2 separate regions of the Homo sapiens genome follow, and region 2 is linked to region 1. The links are contacts of gene promoters, found by promoter capture Hi-C in human tissues and cell types (Jung and others, 2019). All regions are on one chromosome and are shown on one strand. Each heading gives the region's core, a stretch centred on a gene start or on the middle of the fragment in contact. The rest is flanking DNA. Distances are from core to core; before and after follow the strand shown. Region 1 holds the start of SREBF2 (sterol regulatory element binding transcription factor 2). Region 2 holds the start of RRP7A (ribosomal RNA processing 7 homolog A).

Evidence for each region. Contacts are between HindIII fragments. The study calls those that stand out against the background at their distance.
Region 2: a contact is called between the fragment with the promoter of RRP7A here and the fragment with the promoter of SREBF2 in region 1, in 3 of the 25 tissues and cell types used here (dorsolateral prefrontal cortex, lymphoblastoid cells and spleen).

Annotation. Positions count from the first base shown.
Region 1 is chr22:41,831,342-41,835,888 of GRCh38, forward strand. It overlaps SREBF2 (sterol regulatory element binding transcription factor 2), which reads left to right and starts at 1,764. Exons shown (of 19, transcript NM_004599.4): 1 at 1,764-2,017. The coding sequence starts at 1,930. It overlaps CCDC134 (coiled-coil domain containing 134), which reads left to right. Exons shown (of 7, transcript NM_024821.5): 7 at 1-823. It overlaps SREBF2-AS1 (SREBF2 antisense RNA 1), which reads right to left and starts at 3,324. Exons shown (of 2, transcript NR_157279.2): 1 at 3,102-3,324; 2 at 1-2,639. RefSeq lists enhancers at 1-291, 1,118-1,627, 1,233-1,889, 3,680-4,181, 4,182-4,547 and silencers at 1,668-2,007, 2,068-2,457. The HindIII fragment of the contact is 7,421 bases long and covers 1-2,960 here.
Region 2 is chr22:42,518,546-42,523,374 of GRCh38, forward strand. It overlaps RRP7A (ribosomal RNA processing 7 homolog A), which reads right to left and starts at 1,251. Exons shown (of 7, transcript NM_015703.5): 1 at 1,169-1,251. The coding sequence starts at 1,241. It overlaps LOC124900479 (a long non-coding RNA gene), which reads left to right. Exons shown (of 3, transcript XR_007068117.1): 1 at 1-808. RefSeq lists silencers at 1,003-1,132, 1,143-1,312, 1,333-1,392 and enhancers at 1,573-1,632, 2,158-2,452. The HindIII fragment of the contact is 27,172 bases long and covers 1-4,829 here.

The DNA of each region.
Region 1 (4,547 bases), core at 514-3,013:
ACACCCGGCTAATTTTTGTATTTTTAGTAGAGACGGGGTTTCACCATGTTGGTCAGGCTGGTCTCCAACTCCTGACCTCAAATGATCTGCACACCTCGGCCTCCTAAAGTGCTGGAATTACCGGTGTGAGCCACCGCGCCTGGCCAGATCCTTATTTTTTCAATTGCAATACAGCAGTATGCAAGGCACTTACTGTATGCCAAAGCTTATGCCGAGAGCTGGCTGCCAGCAGCTCCTCCTGCCTCGAGGCCTTTGTCCATGTCATCATTTCCCCTTTGGCTGTAACAGCTGCAGTTCTCTCATAATTTTAGGTTTCATCTTAAATGTCACTTCTTCAGAGGCTTCTTGACAGCACAAGTCAGGGCCCTTGTTAGTTTCATCACATCCATTACCTTTCCTTGATCACTTGTACCATCATCTGTAATTTATTTTTATGTTTAATACGGGTGTGGGATTTCTGATTTTTTTTTTTGCTAGACTGGAAGCTCTCAGAGGGCAGGAACCATTTGTTTCCCTGCCACAGAGATGTTCAATAAATATTGTCAATTGAATGTGCAAATAATCTCACTTAACCACAGCTATGAGGGATGCTATTTTATCCCCATTTTAGAGATGACTAAACTGAGGCTTAGAACAATTAACCCAAGGTCACAGTGAATTAGTGGATCCATGTGTCTGCCTCCACACAGCCTGTGTGTTCTTAATTATTGATCACTAAGCAACAGCTGCCTCTCACAAACTGGCAGGAAACTTCAACTTTTCCCTTTTATCAATATATTGTGAACGCCTTTTCTTGCTAATAAATATACATTTGTGTGCGTAATTTTTAATGATCCCATGGTATTCCATCGTGTGGATGTAATTTACATATTCATTTCCTTATTCTCACTTCTTCCTAGTTACAGCACTTCTTTAAGCACTTGTAATTTTTATTCCTTTGGATAAATTCCTAGAAGTTTACAACACGACCAGCTGCAAGATGGGGCAGTGAGGTGCTTGAAGGAGTGGGTGGGCTGCACTTCAGAATCCCGGTGGAACTTTTTCAAAAAACTCGTGCCCGGGGCCCCCCTCTCAGGAGGCCGTCGGTGGGCCTGGGCACTGGCGTGGTTTTCAGGTCCTCAGTGGTTCCGAGGTGCCAGAGATTGAGGACCACTGGAGTAAGCGCGAGGTCACGGCGGGTGCAAAGCAGAAGACGTAAAATCCTGACCGCCCTGGGACAATCTGCAACCTTGTCAAGCCTCCGTGCCCGCCTTTGTAAGGAGGCTGGGAGAAGCGGGACTTGGATGACCCGGACTCCCGTCCCGAGCGCTGGGGTCCAGGTTTGACTCCGCTGGCTTTCTCAGGCGGGCAGGGCGGGGGTAGGCAGCTGGGAAGATGACGTAATGTGCTCCCAGCCAGGCCTGGAGGCGGCCAGCGGTCGCAGGTGGAGGGTGGCCTGTTAACCCTTCACTCCCAGGCCAGTGGACGGACTTGCGTGTGGCGCAGATCCAACGGAGAAGGCAGCGGCTCCTTTAAACAAGGCGGAGAAGGTTAAGATGATGACCGGACGGCTACTCCAGGCATTCGCTCCGAGGCCGCGGGGGGAGGGACCTCACTATGCAAATCTGAGCTGCTGATCGATGACGCGCCATCACCCCACGCACCGCTTCGCTCGCCCATTGGCTGAGATGAGCCTGGTCCCATTGACAACAAACAGGGGGGCGCGCGGCCTGGAGGCGGGGCCGCAGGGGGCGCGGGCTGGGGCGGGGGAATCCCGCCCCGCCCTTTCTGTGCGGCGCCCGGGCGCAACGCAAACATGGCGGCGGGTGGCACCCGTCGGTGAGGCGGTGCCGGGCGGGGGTTGTCGGGTGTCATGGGCGGTGGCGACGGCACCGCCCCCGCGTCTCCCTGAGCGGGACGGCAGGGGGGGCTTCTGCGCTGAGCCGGGCGATGGACGACAGCGGCGAGCTGGGTGGTCTGGAGACCATGGAGACCCTCACGGAGCTGGGCGACGAGCTGACCCTGGGAGACATCGACGGTGAGTGGTGGGTGGGTGGGAGTGCGGGGGCCGCGCGGGGAGGAAGGGGTTACGGCGGCGCGCCCGGGTGCGCGTGCGCCCACCCCCCGACAGCCCCGGTTCGCGCGGGAAGAACCCCGTGCGCACGGTGCCCCCGGCGGTCCTCAACCCTTCCGGCGCTGCGAGCGTGAGCCCGACCCAGCTGCGCCGCTCCGGGAGGCCGTGGGATCTGGGGCGCCGCGGGGCCGAAAGCGGCGCGAGGGTCGCGGGTTCCAGAGCGCGGGGCTAGGGACGTCGCGGGGGCGTCTCAGGGAGCGGCCTAAGGAGAGCGCGTGGCCGCCGCCTCCCTCGCGCGCCCACACGCGGTTTCCGTGGTCCGCTCTCCCGCCGCCCGCGACCGCGCGTCGCACCTGTCACTCCCTTCCTGGCCGCGGGGACGTCTTTGGGATTCCCGGGGCCCAGCCCCCAGTCTCCGCGCCCCGAATCCCTGGGCTTCTCAGGATTGACCGACGGCCAGGTCGCCGGGTGCTCCGCGAAACTTTGGGCAGCGACTGCAGAAGCAAGTTGCTGATGAAGAGAGCAGTGGCGGCGGAGTGTGGACACATCTCTCCGGGATGGAGACCCGGGCGCTCCTGCTGTCACGCTGCAAGGGGAATTGAGCAGAAGAAATTTTGAGTTGTGGCCCCTCGGGTACGGGCTGGGGAGCGGGTGGCCTTTGTTCCAGCGCCTTAACAGCGGAGTGGAAGAGCTGGTAGGAGCCCAGGGATCCACTCTTAAAATACTAATTTTGCGACCACGGGAACAACGATTTGGAGAGGGTCAGCGGCTTGCTCAAGGTCACCCAGCTGGTTAGAGCCTAGTTCTTGCAGTTCCTTGGCCAGTATTGGTTTTTTTATACCCCTCCTTTCAAGAAAGAGTCCAGTTGACTAGGCTAGTAATCTTATTAACTGGATAGTTGCACTCTTATGTTTAGGCCCCAAAATGCTTTGTATTATTTCACTTCTTCCTCACAACAATCCTGTGAGATACTCTTATTACCTCTATTTTAATACGGTAATTAAAGAAGCCGAGGCCAGGAGATGTTGACTTATCTAAGGCCACTCACCTTAGAGAGCTTAGGCAGAAACACAGGTGCATTGTACTTTTCAGTTTTCAGAATGCTTTCATGTCCAGGATCTCACTACAGCCTTGCAGGCATGTATGATGGCTACATCCCCGTTGTGCAGATGAAGAAGCAGAAGCAGCAGAAGATTCTCTTTTGGGGGAAGAGATAAATGCAGCAGCTAATTGAAAAGGATCTGTTTGCCATTTTCCCATTTTGCTTTTGTAATATTTCTCCCCTTGGTTTGTCCTTGATTTCCATTTTGGTCATGTGGGCAGTGTGATAAGACCCTTAATTGAAGCCCCAGTTCTAACCACAGACTCTTTGCTAAGTGCTTCTAAATACAGAAATGGGTTAACAAATGGGGGATGGGGTAGGTGGGGGTTGGGAACATAGCAAGGGCAGCTAACATGTTTTGAGAACTTCTGTGCCAGACGGTGTTAAACAGTTATACACGTTAATGTTCTCAATCTTCCTAACAACCCTGTCAGGTAGAGAGAACTGTTATACTTGTCATCTCCCTCTCACTGATCCTGAAAGTGAGGCCCAGGGTGGTTCATTAATTTACTGAAGATTACACAGCCAGTAGAAAGTACTGTATGTCTATAGCTGCCTACCTGCAAGGGCACAGAAAGAAATTCATGTGCATTTTGCATTCCTATTCCATGATCAATTCCTATTTGTCTTATTTTGTTTATCTGATTTTTAAATTTAAATTTTTATTTATTTAGTTATTTTTTGAGACAGGGTCTCATTCTGTCACCCAGGCTGGAATGCAGTGGCACAATCATAGCACAAACTCTTAGGCTCAAATGATCCTCCTGCCTTGGCCTCCCAAAGTGCTAGGATTACAGGTGTGAGCCACCTAAATTTTTTTTTTTTTTTTTTGAGATGGAGTTTCGCTATTGTTGCCCAGGCTGGAGTGCAATGGCGCGATCTCGGCTCACCGCAACCTCCACCTCCCGAGTTCAGGCGATTCTCCTGTCTCAGCCTCCCGAGTAGCTGGGATTACAGGCATGCGCCACCACGCCCGGCTAATTTTGTATTTTTAGTAGAGACAGGGTTTCTCCATGTTGGTCGGGCTGGTCTCCAACTCCCAACCTCAGGTGATCCGCCCACCTTGGCCTCCTAAAGTGCTGAGATTACAGGCATGAGCCACTGTACCTGGCCGAGCCACCGTGCCTGGCCGAGCCACCTAATTTTTTTTAGAGACAGTGTCTGGCTGTTGCCCAGGCTGGAGTGCAGTGGCACAATCATAGCTCACTGCAGCCTTGAACTCTTGGGCTTAAGCAATCCTCCCAGCTCAGCTTCCCGAGTAGTTAGGACTAAGGCATGTGCCACCACACCTAGCTAATTTATATATATATGGTAGAGCCAGTCTCACTGTGTTGCCCAGGCTAGTCTTCAACTTCCAGGCACATGCAGTCCTCCTGTCTTGGCCTCCCAAAG
Region 2 (4,829 bases), core at 1-2,500, 690 kb after region 1:
GGTACACCAGGGCCTCACACATGCTGGCCTCTCTACCTGGCGTGTCACCCTCTTCCCTCCCGCTCACCTCAGGTTTAGCTCAAACCTCGCTTCCTCAGGAGAGCCTTAGCATCACCTCCGCCCCTCCTGCCAGCTCAGATCCCACTGCCTGTGCCTTCACAGCTTCTCTTAACAGTCTGGAGGCTATATTGATGAGATTCTTTGGTTAATCGCTGGCACACCCATGACTGTAATCCTCATAAAGCTAGGAACTGCTTCTATTTTTCTCACACCTCCGTCACAGTACCGGTTGGCGTAGAGCTGCGGTCCCTGAACTCAGGAAGCTCAGTTGCAATAACGGAGAAGACAATTAACAAGCATACAGCAAACTTGTATCAATTGTGAAAGAAACATTACAGGGTGATGGGGTGGCAGAGGTCTTCTTTCCATAGGCCATCACGGATGGCCTCTTTGAGGAAGCAACATTAAAGCTCAGGCCAGAACGCCACTGTGCAACAAACCGGCACAGCACGTGCAAAAACCCAGAGGGGGGAAAAAGCATGTTCCCTCAGAGGAACAGAAAGAGCTTTAGGTCGGCACCAGCCAGACCACGTGGCCCACACAGGTTAAGAAGTCTGGTTTTTGTTTTAGAAGCTACCTGATAAAGCCACTGGAGGGAATGCAGTAGGTGTGGCGCCTATCGTGGGCGCGGCAGACATGATCGAATCTAAATGTCCTTAAAAGAACATTCTGGCACGTGGGTGGAGAACAGAAGCAGGGGCAAGAGGAGAAGGAGGGCAACCGAGTAGGAGGGCCTATAACAGCCCAGGTAAGAGCTGATGGGGGATGGACTAGGAGCAGAGGCGATGAGAAGGGGATGGGCTCACCTGGACGAGCGGGTGTGGACGGAAATGGGTTTGTCCTGGGTGAGAGTGTGGACAGAGGCGGGCTCACCCAAGGGAAGCGTGGACCAAGTTGGGCTCGCCCCGGGAGAGTGAGCAGGCAGAAGGGCGCCGCCTGGGTCCTCGGGACCCCGGAGCCTCAAGACCTGCGGAGCCTGGGGCCACGGGCCACCGGGGCTCACACCCAACCGTGCGGCCGCTCCTGGGGACCCCCGGCCGTCGCCAACCCCCAAACACCTCCCGGCGATGCCTGACCGCCCCCGGTCTCGCGTCCCGGAGCCCCTCACCTGCGTAGCCCAGTGGGCTGGGGATACGGTCCTCCGGGTCCCGCGCGGCGCACTTCCTCCTGCGCGCCACCATCTTGCCACCCGGGAGCGCGGGGGCCGCCGGGAGTTGCGGTTCGGCGCCGGCGCGAGCGCGTTTTCGTGGCGCCTGCCCCGCCCCCTCACTCCAAGCCCGCCTCCCCGGCCCCGCCCGCCATGGCCCAACCTTCATCCGCTCAGAGATAAATCAGCGCGCGAAAGTGGGAGCGAATGTCAGAGTTGACCCCGGCCAGTCACGAGTGCGAACTCAGCTTTCCACTCATGCATTCACACGTTGAATAGGCAGTGTGAGAGAAATCCAGGATGGCTGCTAGGTTTTCAGTCTGAGCAACTAAGAGGATGGTGTTGCCATTGACTGAGATGGGAAGACTGCAGGAGAGGGGCCTGCTTGGGGGTGAAAATGGAGTAGATCAGTTCTCTGTGAGCCGTGGTGAGATGCCCATTAGGCCACTCAGGGGACATGTCAGGTGGGCACTTAGATATGAGACTGAACAGACTGAACATCAGAGATGTCAGGCCTGGAGCAATACACACGGGACTGGCCATGGATAGGTTATTGACAGTTACGAGAGGAGCCGGGTGCGGTGATTCATGCCTGTAATCCCAGCAATTTGGGAGGCCGAGGGGGGCGGATCACTTGAGGTCAGGAGTTCCAGACCAGCCTGGCCAACATGGTGAAACCCCGTGTCTACTAGGTACAAAAAGTAGCCGGGCGTGGTAGTGCATGCCTGTAATTCCAGCTACTCGGGAGGCTGAGGCAGGAGAATCGCTTGAACCCAGGAGGCGGAGATTGCAGTTAGCCAAGATCGCCCCACTGCAATCCAGCCTGGGCAACAGAGCGAGACTCTGTCTCAAAAAAAAAAGAAAGAGAAAAAAAAAGAAAGTTATGAGAGGGTGTGATCGCCAAGGGAGCAAGTGTAGATAGGGGAGAAATGAAGTCCAAGGACTCCACTTTTCTGGACTCCAAAGGGCCTCTCAGACTGTGTACCCGCCAGCCCTTGATGTATCTACTATTTCTCTTTTCCCAGTGTACAGTTGCTTCTTGGAAATGCTGTCGGCCCCTTTGGGGAAAGATTAGGAGCCTACTACTGCAAATATTTGTGGTCTGGAGGGGACCCAGCCTCCCTTTCAGTCAGTGACCTCTGGTTCTGAGGCCTAGCTTAGGCCTGGAAACTGGATGAGGGGTTGGGATTTTCCATCAGCAGCTGCCATTACTGTCCTGTTCGCTCGTTTTTTGTTTTTGATCTTTCTTTGCTTAGCGCAGTCAAGCAGTGTTGGGGCTTCCGTGGCCCCTGGGAATACCGTGGTCTACTAGCATTCACCAGAGACTCCTGTGCGCCCAGGATCCCTGGCAGCCACTCTGGCCTTGCTCCTGTTCTGACAGTCACATCAACCGAACCTCTGCTCTCTGGAATCCTATCTCCTGCTGACCTTTCCGAGCCCGGCTCCAGTCCTATTTGCCCTCTTCTACCCTGGCCTCAGAGGACGGCCATGCCGATTGCCCATTGATGCCTAGACCCCCCACTAGTCAAAGCAGTCTCTGGTGAACCCTCCAGAAATACGGTCATCTGGCTTCTCAGATGTTGCATAATAAATCTGTGCCTGCACATCCCCCTCCCCGAGGCCTTTGGCTCCTTCTCAGTGCCCTGCCACCATCGTTCTGTTATCTCCCTCTCATGTATTGCTTCCACGCTTCAAGGAGCCATCTCGATGGATATCAGGACTGGCCACACAACATCACTTTTTTTTTTTTTTTTTTGAGATGGAGTCTCGCTGTGTCGCCAGGCTGGAGTGCAGTGGCGCGATCTCCGCTCACTGCAACCTCCGCCTCCTGGGTTCAAGCAATTCTCCTGCATCAGCCTCCTGAGTAGCTGGGATTACAGGTGTGCACCACCATGACCAGCTAAATTTCTTATTTTTGATAGACACAGAGCTTCGCCATATTGGCCAGGATAGTCTCGATCTCTTGGCCTTGTGATCCGCCCACCTCGGCTTCCCAAAGTGCTGGGATTACAGGCATAAGCCTTTTTTTTTTTTTTTTTTTTTTTTTTTTGAGACGGAGTCTCACTCTGCTGACACCCAGGCTGGAGTGCAGTGCTGCCATCTCAGCTTACTGCAACCTCCACCTCCCGGGTTCAAGCAATTCTCCTGCCTCAGCCTCCCAAGTAGCTGGGATTACAGGCATGTGCCACCACACCCAGCTACTTTTTTGTATTTTTAGTAGAGACAGGGTTTACCATGTTGGCCAGGCTGGTCTTGATCTCCTGACCTCAGATGATCTGCCCACCTCGGCCTCCCAAAGTGCTGAGATTACAGGTGTGAGCCACTGCACCCAGCCTAGAATTCAAGACTCTTGAGCCCATCTATCCAGACGTTCCCTGCCCTAGGTGACAGTGTCCGCTCCTTCACTTCTGTGCTCCTTGACTGGAGCACAGCACTTAGCACAGCCGTTCATCTGCCCTGATTCAAACTCCACAGTTCTCATCAGGTTCTAGGCCTTTATCAGCACAATGTGACCTGTCTTTAAACACGTCTCTGGAAGCCCCTCCTGATTTTCACCTTGGGCTATAAGTTGATAAATGGCTGTCCTGAGGCCTGTTGTTTTCTTCCTTCAGCCCACTGATGCCACTCGATCAATTAACTCCACTTTCTTTATAATTACCACTGCCCATGTATTTCATGGGTCAGGAATTTGGGCAATGCTCTGCTAGGAGATTTTGTTTCTCCCTGTGGCACTGACTGAGGGCATTTGATGGTATTCAGCTGGCATATGGGCTGCACTAAAGGTTCCAAGTCACTTCACTCACATCGCAGCATCTCAGCAGATGAGTCCGGCATCTCAGCAGGGATGGCTGGTGATAGAGTTTGAGTATTTGTCTCCGCCCAAATCGCATGTTAAATTGTAATCCCCAGTGCTAGAGGTGGGGCCTGGTGGGAAGTGTTTGGATCATGGGGGCCTCATGGCTTGGCGCCGTCTTTGCGTCTTTGCGATCGCGAGTTCTCGCGAGATCTGTTTGTTTAAAAATGGGTGGCTGCTTCACCCCCCACTTTGTTGGTCAGGCTTTCACCATGTGAAGTGACCCCTCACACTTCGCCTTCCACCATGAGTCAAAGCTCCCTGAGGCCTCCCCAGAAGCAGATGCAGCCATGCTTCCCGTACAGCCTGCAGAACCAATTCAACGTCTTGGCTTTATAAATTCCCCAGTCTCAGGTATTTCTTCATAGCAGTGCAAGAATGGCCGAATATGGCTGGGCTCAAGTGGGACTTGTCAACTAGAGCACCCACCCATGGATTTCCTAGCATGTGGTCTCAGTAGTCAACTTTTTTTTTTTTTCCTGCTTGCTGGGAGGAGGAGGAGGGAGAAGCGACGGGCTTCATTAGGAACGGTGAGTTTGCGACTCTGCCGCTAAGTGGCAGCTCCAGCTCACCCCCCCAGCTCCCTCCCACAGGCCACGGCTGGGCATGGAGAACTGGTGACTTCAGAGGCCCGGAGAGAAAAGACGGGGGAGAGCGAGGGGCCGCCGTGCCTGAGGTCTGGGGGTGACAGCAGAGGATGGCCAAGGAGTGCAGGGCCAGGTTGCCCTGCCCTGTCTAAGAGAGTCTTACCGAATATAGAGGTTGAAT